3 separate regions of the Homo sapiens genome follow, and all the other regions are linked to region 2. The links are contacts of gene promoters, found by promoter capture Hi-C in blood cells and fetal thymus (Javierre and others, 2016). All regions are on one chromosome and are shown on one strand. The core of a region is centred on a gene start or on the middle of the fragment in contact, and the rest is flanking DNA. Distances in the headings are between cores, read along the strand shown.

What was found. Contacts are between HindIII fragments. The CHiCAGO score rates a contact against its expected background, and 5 or more counts as called.
Region 1: a fragment that was not itself captured here is called in contact with the fragment with the promoter of PODXL2 in region 2 in 1 of 17 cell types (neutrophils); the score reaches 5.4 in neutrophils.
Region 3: a fragment that was not itself captured here is called in contact with the fragment with the promoter of PODXL2 in region 2 in 1 of 17 cell types (neutrophils); the score reaches 8.9 in neutrophils.

The regions. Positions count from the first base shown.
Region 1 is chr3:127,847,680-127,851,108 of GRCh38, forward strand. All of the region lies in intron 4 of LOC107986129 (a long non-coding RNA gene), which reads right to left. All of the region lies in intron 1 of LOC105374096 (a long non-coding RNA gene), which reads left to right. Among named protein-coding and RNA genes, the nearest start is that of MGLL, 27 kb to the left of the region's middle. The HindIII fragment of the contact is 3,417 bases long and covers 1-3,406 here.
Region 2 is chr3:127,627,575-127,630,864 of GRCh38, forward strand. It overlaps PODXL2 (podocalyxin like 2), which reads left to right and starts at 1,611. Exons shown (of 8, transcript NM_015720.4): 1 at 1,611-1,715. The coding sequence starts at 1,646. It overlaps LOC107986126 (a long non-coding RNA gene), which reads right to left and starts at 1,389. Exons shown (of 2, transcript XR_001740892.2): 1 at 1,232-1,389. RefSeq lists silencers at 1,544-1,613, 1,724-1,853 and an enhancer at 2,254-2,313. The HindIII fragment of the contact is 9,170 bases long and covers 1-3,290 here.
Region 3 is chr3:127,828,451-127,831,823 of GRCh38, forward strand. No RefSeq gene overlaps it. Among named protein-coding and RNA genes, the nearest start is that of MGLL, 7.6 kb to the left of the region's middle. The HindIII fragment of the contact is 9,678 bases long and covers 1-3,373 here.

The sequences.
Region 1 (3,429 bases), core at 448-2,947, 220 kb after region 2:
TAGCTCAAGGAGACAGAAAATTAAGCAAAAAGCACATAAATGGATAATATAGGCATTCTATGGACTTTAGTAATGCATGCCCAGAGAAGGGAATCCGTGTTCTCAGTTAATTTTTAAAATCCTCAGTTAGAGGGATGAGCTAGACAGTGGATTTTTTTCTGAGAATAATTTCAGGATATTTACAAATTAAGGATATTTAAGATAAATCTCCATAAAAATAAAATCCATGCTCAACATGAGAACAGAGAGGCCATCTACAGGAGTGTTTAAAATGGGGCAGATTCAGTCCCAGAGGGTTTCCAGATGAGTTCTGAGACACATCCAGCAGCGTGCCATGGGCATGGAAGGGTTCTAAGACTTGCATACAAGTTGTGTCAAAACCTAGAAAATGCTAGAATTATATTTCTAGACAGGGAAAATTAATTTTGAATAACAATATTAGTGTTAGTACAAAATTAGTATAAAATGCACCTGCAGACTTGCTGGAGTTGGTGTGATATCTGACACAGAATCAAAGCAAAGCATGACACTCACTGGATCAGAACACTCTAGCCTCAGAAGCCCTTGAACTCTCCAGCGTTCCAGGGCAGGAAATAGCGCTCATCTCTTTGTTAGCTGTGAGCACGCCTGAGCATTTTCTGGAAACTGCTAGTACTGCAGTCCAGATTGCCTGCTCTGAGCTGAAAGAAGACAGAGAGAGACTGAGAAAAGCCTTTGATTTAAAATCCTGCAGTCGCTGCAATACCAGAGCGGGTGGGTCTATGGCAGGATTGTTTTGTTAAGGAGACCTGACAAATCTGCAAAGCAGGTTTTCACGCAATGTATAATGAATCCCCTGGCTTATGTATTATGTAATAGTAGATTTGTGCTCGTTGAGTTTCTGTAGGAGGAATGGGTGTGCTATTCACAAGTGTTGTCTTAGCAAAGAAGGAAACACTTTTTAAAAGAATGAGGATCTGTATGGGTACACATGTAATTATATCATCTGTGTTCATTCATCCAGTCACCAAAGATTTCCTAGTGCCTTTTACAAAGTTAGTGCTGGGGATTCAAACCTGCAGGAAATTAGGTCCCTGATTCTAAGGAAACTTCAGTCTAGTTTGAGAGATCAACACAGCAGCGAATAATTAGGGCACCACAGGGTAAATGCTAAGAGAGCTACAGACAGTTTCATATAGGCTCAAAGAGGAGGAAGTAATGAATCCTGCCTGGCAAGGGATAGGAGGTAGGGAAGGCTCCAGGAGGAGTGGGTATCTGGGTGGAGCGTGGAAGGTTGAGCAGGAGTTTACCAGGCAGAGGAAGAGAGGGGAAGAGAGGAAATGGCCTATGCAAGGCTCATCAGCAAAAGCATGTGTGGAGGTGCCAGCTGTGCTTAGAATGGCAGTGTAAGTGGACTAGGACAGTTGGGAGAAGATGAAGTTGATTTGGCCTGGGGTATTAGTTTGGACATGGGTTCAGCTGTCCTAAACAATGTTCCCAAATCAGAGTGGCTTTAGAAAGAAAGATGTGTATTTCTCTTACATAATAGTATGGGCATGAGCAGTTCAGGGCTGGTAAGAGGCTTTTCAGCGAGAAACCCCAGCTCCTTCAGCCATCCCAGGACACGGCCCCATCCACATGGTCCCATGTGGGGCTCACTCACCCTTGCACATCTGTGTTCCACCCAGCCATGTCCCTAGTCACAAGGCATTCCCTATTCACCTCCACCATTGCTATATTTACAATACAGTCTTCACCTCGTCCACCTTCTATGCTCCAGATGAAAGGGGGAGAGGGAGGACAGGCCTCTTTCCTCTAAGGATGTAGCTGGGAATTGTACATGTGGCTCACATGGTGTGCCGACATGATGGAGCCTGGCTATAAGGAAGGCTGGGAAATGTAGTTCTTATTCTGGGCAGCCATATGGGCAGCCATCTGCCCAGCTAAAAATGGGAGGTCCTATTTCCATGTGAAAGAAAGGGAGCTGGGATGCCAAGAGGCCATGAGCAGCCCCGCCTTTTCGTGCCTTTGAGTGCTCTATTAGTGATCTCTAGAATGCCTTTGGGAAAGCCAACATAACGTGCTTCAATTTTCTGCTTTATTTATTCTGACATGCTGACTTGTTAGTGACAGTCTGATTTCTCAAAACTAGAATTTTCAGGATTTAAGAGGTTACTCGATGTCAGCAAGTAATAAATGAGCGCTGACCCAAACATCTGCTTTGGAAACAGGAGCTCTGACATGGTTTTAAAGACACTTTCCACCATGTCTGGCCAGTGGAGGTTTTTAGAGTCCCAGGGTATTCCCATTGCCAAAGTTTACAGAAACAAGTCAGGCACCATTTCCACTGCCCCAGACTAAGGAGATGGGAACAGACTTCTCGTTAGGGTAGGGCAGGGAAATGACACAGATCATGCGTCTGACTCCCAGTATACCTCTTAGGGTGCCACCTAATCTTTCTCAGCATCAACTACCTCATCTGTAAAATGGGGATAAGGATGACTCTCAGGTTGACAGAATTAAGTGAGATATTATATGTGACCTGTAGAGAAAGTCCAACAGACTTTGGGAGGCTGAGGCGGGCGGATCACAAGGTCGGGGATCGAGACCATCCTGGCTAGCATGGTGAAACCCCATCTCCACTGAAAATACAAAAAATTAGCTGGGCGTGGTGGTGGGTGCCTGTAGCCCCAGCTACTCGGGAGGCTGAGGCAGGAGAATGGTGTGAACCTGGGAGGCAGAGCTTGCACTGAGCCAAGATCGCACCACTGCACTCAAGCCTGGGTGGCAGAGCGAGATTCCATCTCCAAAAAAAAAAAAAAGAGAAAGCCCAACAGATATTTGCTTTTCTTCTATTTTGACTGTCAGTTACTATGTGCACAGCACTTGGATAGAAACTACAATGCAAGAAAGGATTTAAAAGCCTGGTTTCTTGCAAAGAGGGAGGGCTCTTTGCATCTCTACCTCTACTGATACCTTAATGAAGTGATCAATCCTATTTCTTTTTTTTTTTTTTTTTTGAGACGGAGTCTTGGTCTGTCGCCCAGGCTGGAGTACATTGGCGTGATCTCAGCTCACTGCAACCTCCGCCTCCCAGGTTCAAGTGATTCTCTTGCCTCAGCCTCCTGACTAGATAGGATTACAGACGTGTGCCACCCCACCCGACTAATTTTTGTATTTTTAGTAAAGACAGGGTTTCACTATATTGGCCGGGCTGGTCTCGAACTCCTGACCTCAAGTGATCTGCCTGCCTCGGCCTCCCAAAGTGCTGGGATTACAGGTGTGAGCCAACGTGCCCAGCCAGAGCAATCCTAATTTGGGCAATAAAGGAGCAAAGAGGCATCATGTCCCACCTGTTGAGTTACACTGGGGGCAGAGGATCACTTCTCTGGTATTCTTTTCAAGAACCCAAATTTAATCACAAATAAGCTTCAGGAAAACTCAAATCCA
Region 2 (3,290 bases), core at 361-2,860:
TTATTTTGTTCCATTCACTTAAAAGAGAATGTTTCTAATGTTTCATCATTAAGTATGGTTTCACCATTAAGTATGATAATAAAGGTTTCTGGGAGATACCCTTAATGGAATTGAGGACGTTTCCTTCCATTTCTTGTTTGCTTCTAAGATCTTTGTTTCTTGTAACAGAAAAACAAAACAAAACACAACAAAAAACCAAAGGGATGCTCCTTTCATCCTCAGAGGAGGAAAGAAGAGGGAAGCTGGGTCTAGACACACCCTGGATTTCTCTTTTCCAAGCCCAGCTGACAGCCACTTTTCTAGTACCCCTAACACCCACCAAATAAAAGGTGCTACATTTTGCTCATGTTCTTTCTTTTGTCTGGAACCCATTTCTTCCCTATGCTCCTCCACCCCAACTCCTATTTCTCCTAAGTATTAATATTTAGTCTGGAAGAGTCCCGTGAGATTATCTCCAATGTCTGATGCTATACCCCTGCATAGGGGGGTGGGGATATACTTTGAAAAAGCATATTCAAATAACGATTTGTTATTTTAAAGAAGTGTTTTCCTAATATGGTATATATAAAGTAACATTCCACAAAATTGTGGTTGCTGTATATTTAAGCTGCAGTACTTCTAAAAGGGTAGTCGGGGTTTTTCTCTCCCTAAAAGAGGCTGAGCTTCTTTCTAACTCAGGAACTCTATCAGTGAGCTTTTCCCTCTGCCTTGTAAGTTCTCTCCCAAACCCAATCTCCTACCTAATACCCACTCATCCTTCCAGATGCCAGCCAGCTTACCTTAAATGCTGTTTCTTCAGGAAGGCAAGCATAAGGTTCCCCTCTGTGCTGTCTCCTAGCCCCTTATACTCCTTAACAGACCGACTACCAATTGCAATCATAGGACCATATGTGTGTCCATTTTGTTTTTCAGTCTGTTTTCTCTACGAGCCTAAACTATGAGGACGAGGGATGTGCCTGTTTTATTTACCACTACAGTGCTTGGCATATTAAGGATCTTCAGTTGCCAAAAGGGAGCACATGTTAGAGAAGTCAGCACCTCTCTCATAATCTAAAACCCCCCAGTTAGCAAATGGGGCAAGTGGGGCCCAGAGGTGAGAAGAGATTTACTCAAGGTCTCGGAACCAATCTGATCCTGAGCCAGACTGCCTAGCTCTAAAGTCCAGTTCTTTGCTCTCAGGTTCTCCTTCAGGGCTCACCCAATCTAAGTACCCTGAGAAGTCTTTCCTTACCCCAGGCCTCTGTCCACCCTCACAGTCATTTCCACGCGTCGTCCTCGTCCCATCAGTCCCATCTGCCACAGCTGCCCACTCTGCTTCCCAGGGAACGGGTGACCGCGCGGGGAGAGAGCGGCATCCGGGCGCGAGGTGCGAGGCCCAGGTCTGCGGGCGGCCGGGCCAAGCCCCCGAGCCTCGGCGGTGCTGATTGGCCGGCCTGGCGGGGGGGACGGGCGGAGGGACGGCCGCCCGCGCGTCCGCTTCGTCTCCGCGGGGGCGCGCCCGCGGCACGCGGCCGGGCGGGGCCGGGCGTGAGTGACGGCCATGCGGACCAATGGGGCGGGCGCGCGCCGCCGCCGCCGCCCGCGCGGCCCCTGACGCGGGCCCGGGCGCCGCGCCGCTGCGGCTGCAGGCGGCGACGGCTACACCATGGGCCGGCTGCTGCGGGCCGCCCGGCTGCCGCCGCTGCTTTCGCCGCTGCTGCTTCTGCTGGTTGGGGGTGAGTGCGCTCCGGGCCCGAGCGCGGGAGGGCGGGCGGCGGCGTGGGCGCGGTGCTGGACAGCTCCCCGGGCCGCCAACAAAGGGGCCAGAGTGCGGCGCCGCCGGGAGCGCGCGTGTCCCGGCCGGGCCGCGGCGCCGCCCCGACACACGCGCACGAGGAGTGGGTGCGTGGGGGCCGCGGCGGGCGCCTGGCGTGCCGGGCGACCCCCGACAAAGGCGCGGCGGTGAAGCTGGGACACAGCACCGTGGCCCCCACGCCGCGGCTCTCAGGGGCAGGTGCGCAGGCTGCTGCCTCGCGGGCCGGGGGGGCGCGCACGTGTGGGTGTGCATGTGTGTGCGTGTGCTTGTGTGTGTGCGAGTGCATTGTGTGCCTGCGCACTCGGGGGAAGAGGCGTGTGTGACAGCCACGCGGGGAGGAGGCCGCATTGTGAAGGTCCCAGGGGCCGCCTGCGGAGTGTGGGGCGGGTACGCTGAGGCGCGGGTGGCTGTTTACGCGTGGCGTTGCCGGGAGGGAGTGTGAGTGTGTCACGGTGAATGGGTATTCTCTCCTGTTCTGGGCGACTCTATTAGGAGCTGACAAAAACGGGCGTACAGCCACGGAAGGCCCGTGACAGCACACGGCGGGAGGCTCCCACGCAGCTCACACACGAGGGAGGTGTGAGACTCAGATGTGTGGTTTCCATTCAGCAGCCACGCCGGGCGGCGGGCTGTGTGGGTGCGTGGCGGGCTGGGGGTGTGGCACAGGTGTGAAAGGGATGTGTCTGCCTGAGAGAGAAAGAGACGGGCCTCCTGATGGCTTCCAGCGCAGACGGGGATTTAGTGGAGGGGGTGTGTAGGGAGGTGGGCATGGGGTGTGACAGCCCATGAGGCAGGCGGCCACTATGGAAATGGCGGGGAGAAGGGCTGTCTGCAAAGGTGGGTCAAATAAGGTCATAGCTGAGCAGCTCCTGCACACACTGGCAGAGCAGAGGGAGTGTGTTACGGTGTATGTTAAGGTGTGACTGGTGCTGCTGGAGGAATACCCGGATGAGGAAGTGTGCATGTGTGCCTGTGCACACTCATCAGCCAGCTGTAACTTCACTTCTGATGCACACGTCAAAATAGCGTCCTAGTATGATGTGTGTATGTGCATGTAGGAGTGTGTATGTGCATGTAGGAGTGTGCACAGGACATTTCCCACGCAGCTGGCCCATGAAGACACAGGCACTTTGTGTCCAGATGTGTGTGAGTGAAAGAGAAACTAGTGAAGGGTCTCTATGGGAAGGGAGGAACAGTCTTTGCCTGAGGTGGGCCATGAACCTGGGACTCAGAGTGGCAGAATCCCAGGGTAAATGGCTGGGAGGGGAAAGTGGTCCCTCGCACATTCCTGTGCATGTCATGGGAAGGCTCAGTTCAGGGAGGGTACATTTTCTCCACAGTCAGTCTAGGGATGAAGAAAGGCCCTAGGTGGTGTGCACAGAAAAACATGTCCATCAGTGTTGGCTCAGACACTCACACAAACCCACCTGTATTCTTTCACGCCGTAAATCCTCTTTGGAAAAAGGCGACATTCAATAAATAAACATCAATTGAT
Region 3 (3,373 bases), core at 278-2,777, 200 kb after region 2:
TCTCACTCTGTTGCACATACTGGAGTGCTGTGATGCAATCACAGCTCACTGCAGCCTCAACTTTCTAGATTAAGTCATCCTTCCACCTCAGCCTCCTGAGTAGCTGGTACTACAGATGTGTACCACTGTGCCCAGCTAATTTTTTTTTTCTTGGCAAAGATAGGGTTTCACTATGTTGCCCTGGCTAGTCTCAAACTCCTAGGCTCTGAGCCTGCCTGCCTTGGCCTACCAAAGTGCTGGATAATTATAGGCATGAGCCACCAGGCCTGGCCAGGAACATTTTTAAATTCCAGTTTTATTTATTTATACTGTGTTTGAGTGAATCTCTTTGTATAGACTTTTTAGTGGTTGCTCTATGTACTGCATTTTATGTATCACAGCTTACTGATGCCACTTTACTAGTTCTTATGCAATATAAAAACCTAACATCTTCTTATGTCCCTTTACTCTGCACCATTTATACTCTAATTGCCTTAACTATTTTCTCTACATACTCTGAGATTCACATCAGATAGTATTAAAATTTTTGCTTCAATCATCAAATATAATTTAGAAAAGAGGAGAATAAAAGTCTATTTTATTTGCCCATAGTTTTGTTCACTGTGTTCTTTCTTCATGATAGTACAAGGTTTCTTCTTTTATCATTTCTTTTTGGTTTAGATATATTCCTTTAGCCATTCTTTGAGGATGGGTCTGCTGGCAACATTTTCTTAGTTTTGCTTTATCTGAGAATGTCTTGATTCCCCTTCATTCCTGAAGGATATTTTCACTACATAAAGAATTCTGGATTAAAAATTATTTTCTTTCAGCATTTGAAAAATATCATACCATTACATTCTGGCCTTAATGCTATCTGATAAGATATCCATTGTCATTCAAATTTTTTTTCCTTATAAGGAAATTACCTATAGGTAACATGTAATTTATCTTTCCCTGCTGTCAAGATTTTTTTCTTTGTCTTTAGTTTTCAGAAGTTTGACTATGATGTTTCTTGGTATGGGTTTCTTTGGGTATATTTTATTTGGAATTCATTCAGCTTTTTTATTTATAGTTTTTTTTTGTCTCCTGCCAAATTTGAGACATTTTCAGCCATTACTTATTTGAGTACTTTTTCAGCCTCATCCTCTTTTCTCTTCTCCTTTTGGACTCTGATGACATGAATATTTGAGCTTTTCTTATAGTTCCGTAGGTCCCTGAAGGCTCTGTTCATTTTGGTTTTTTTTTTGTGGGTTTTTTTTTTAAGCCTATTTTCTCTCTGTTATTCAGATGAGTCATTTCTATTGTCCTATGTTCCAGCTTATTGCACTGTTCCCTCTATTTCACCTTTGAGCTCATCCATTGAGCTTTTTATTTCAGTTATTGTATTTTTCAACTCTAAAATTTCCATTTGGTTCTTCTTTATATCTTCTATTTCTTTGCTAAGAATTTCTATCCCTTTGCCAAGACTTTTTATTTTTCATTTGTTTCAGGCATGTTTATAATTGCCTGTTGGAGAACTTTTATTGTGACTGCTTTAAAAATCTGTTTGTTTTCCTGTTGGTATATATTGTCTTCTCTAATCCAGTGTTAGATCTTTCTGGTTCTTGATAAGATAAATGATTTTCTATTGAAACTTGGTCATTTTTGTATTATGTCATCAGACTCTGGATCTGATTTAAACCTTTTGTTTTACCTGTGTTTCTCTAGAGTCACAAATGTATAAGGCAAAACAAAAAACCCAGGGAACTCACCACCATGTTGTTCCTCAGGTCCTGAGGTCCCCAGCAGGTTTGCCTTTTATCTCTTCCTTTCAGCATCCTCTTACGTTGGTTGTATACATAATGTCCAGGGTTTTTAGTCATATTTAGTGGGAAAAGTAGGGAAAAGCACATCCACTCCACCTTTGCAGATGTAGAAGTCTTGTATCTGGCTTTTTATTTCAGTAGGGAAATCAGTGGGCCACCAGGCCCCTACTTGCCTGTGTGTCCACCTAGATCTCTAGGGCAGGATTATTCTAGATGCAGTGATCTCCAAGACAAGTGCTGGTTGTCAGGCTCTGCTCCTACAGCCTGCGATGAAAAGGTAAGGGTTGCAATTCAAGTAAAGGTGACGTCTTTCTGCCCCTACAAGTTGATATGGTTTGGATCTGTGTCCCCACCAAACCTCATTTTGAACTGTAATCCCCAATGTTGAAGGTGGGGCCTGGTGGGAGGTGAATGCATCATGGGAATGGATTTCTCATGAATGGTTTAGTGCCATCCCCCTTGGTATTGTCTTGGTAATAGTGAGTGAGTTCTCGTGAGATCTGGTTGTTTAAAAGTGTGTAGCACCTTTCCCTCTCTCTCTTGTTCCTACTCTGGCTGTGTAGGACGTGCCTGCTTTCCTTTCACATTTTGCCATGATTGAAAGTTTCCTGAGGCCTCCCAGAAGCAGAAGCCACTATGCTTCCTGTATAGCCTGCAGAATCATGAGCCAATTAAACCTTTTTTCTTTATAAATTACCCAGTCTCAGGTATTTCTTTATAGCAGCATGAGAATGGGCTAAAACACAAATGTTCTTGTGTGGCCTTCAGAGATGCTCTGAGGTTTGAGGAGAGTAGAACATACTGGAAATACCTGTGAAGAGAAAAGGAGAAAGAGCAAGCCGGGAGATAGTAAGAAGACCAAGAGTTTCTCTTATTAGCAGTTTTAGTGTATGTGATATTGCACAAGAATTTGGGTGGTTGTATACTTCAATTATAAACCACTTCTAATGGGAAAGGAGTGGAGGTTGGGAATGGAAATGGTACTGAAAATGAATGATAGAGGAAAAGCAAGACTGTACTATCAAACTTAAGGGGAAATAAAGTTGGGCAAAAATACCTAAGCCTCAGAAGCAAGCTCCACTGACTAGTGGTGCTACTTCCTGGTGAGTTACTCTATTTTGCTAAGCCTGCCTCCTCACCTGAAACAGGGGAATGTGGATAGGAATACCCCCTCTAGGGCCTTGGTTAAGATGGACTGAACATCAGCATGGTGCCTGGTGGCTAGTCAGCTTGTATTAAGTCAGGGGTGGCAGCTTGGGGGCCTTCATGTTAAGTCTGACCCATTAAAAAGTATTTCTATATCTGAAATGGTTTTTTTAATGTGAGTTTTAAAAATTGGTGATTTCACATGCAAATCCAGATTCCTAGCTTTTCTCAAAGAGCAGAGGGATATGGTTACACTGGACTGTTAGTGTTGGATGATGGGTTGAGCATGAGGTGCCTGCAGGGGCAGATGGATTTGAGGATCTAGAGCTGAAGAAGAAGGTCAGACCGGAGACAGAGATGTGGGTGTTGGCCGGAAATGGCCCTTGCAGCTGTGGGGGAGAGTGTGCTGACCCAGGAGAGTGGGCAGGTAGAGGTGTGACCTG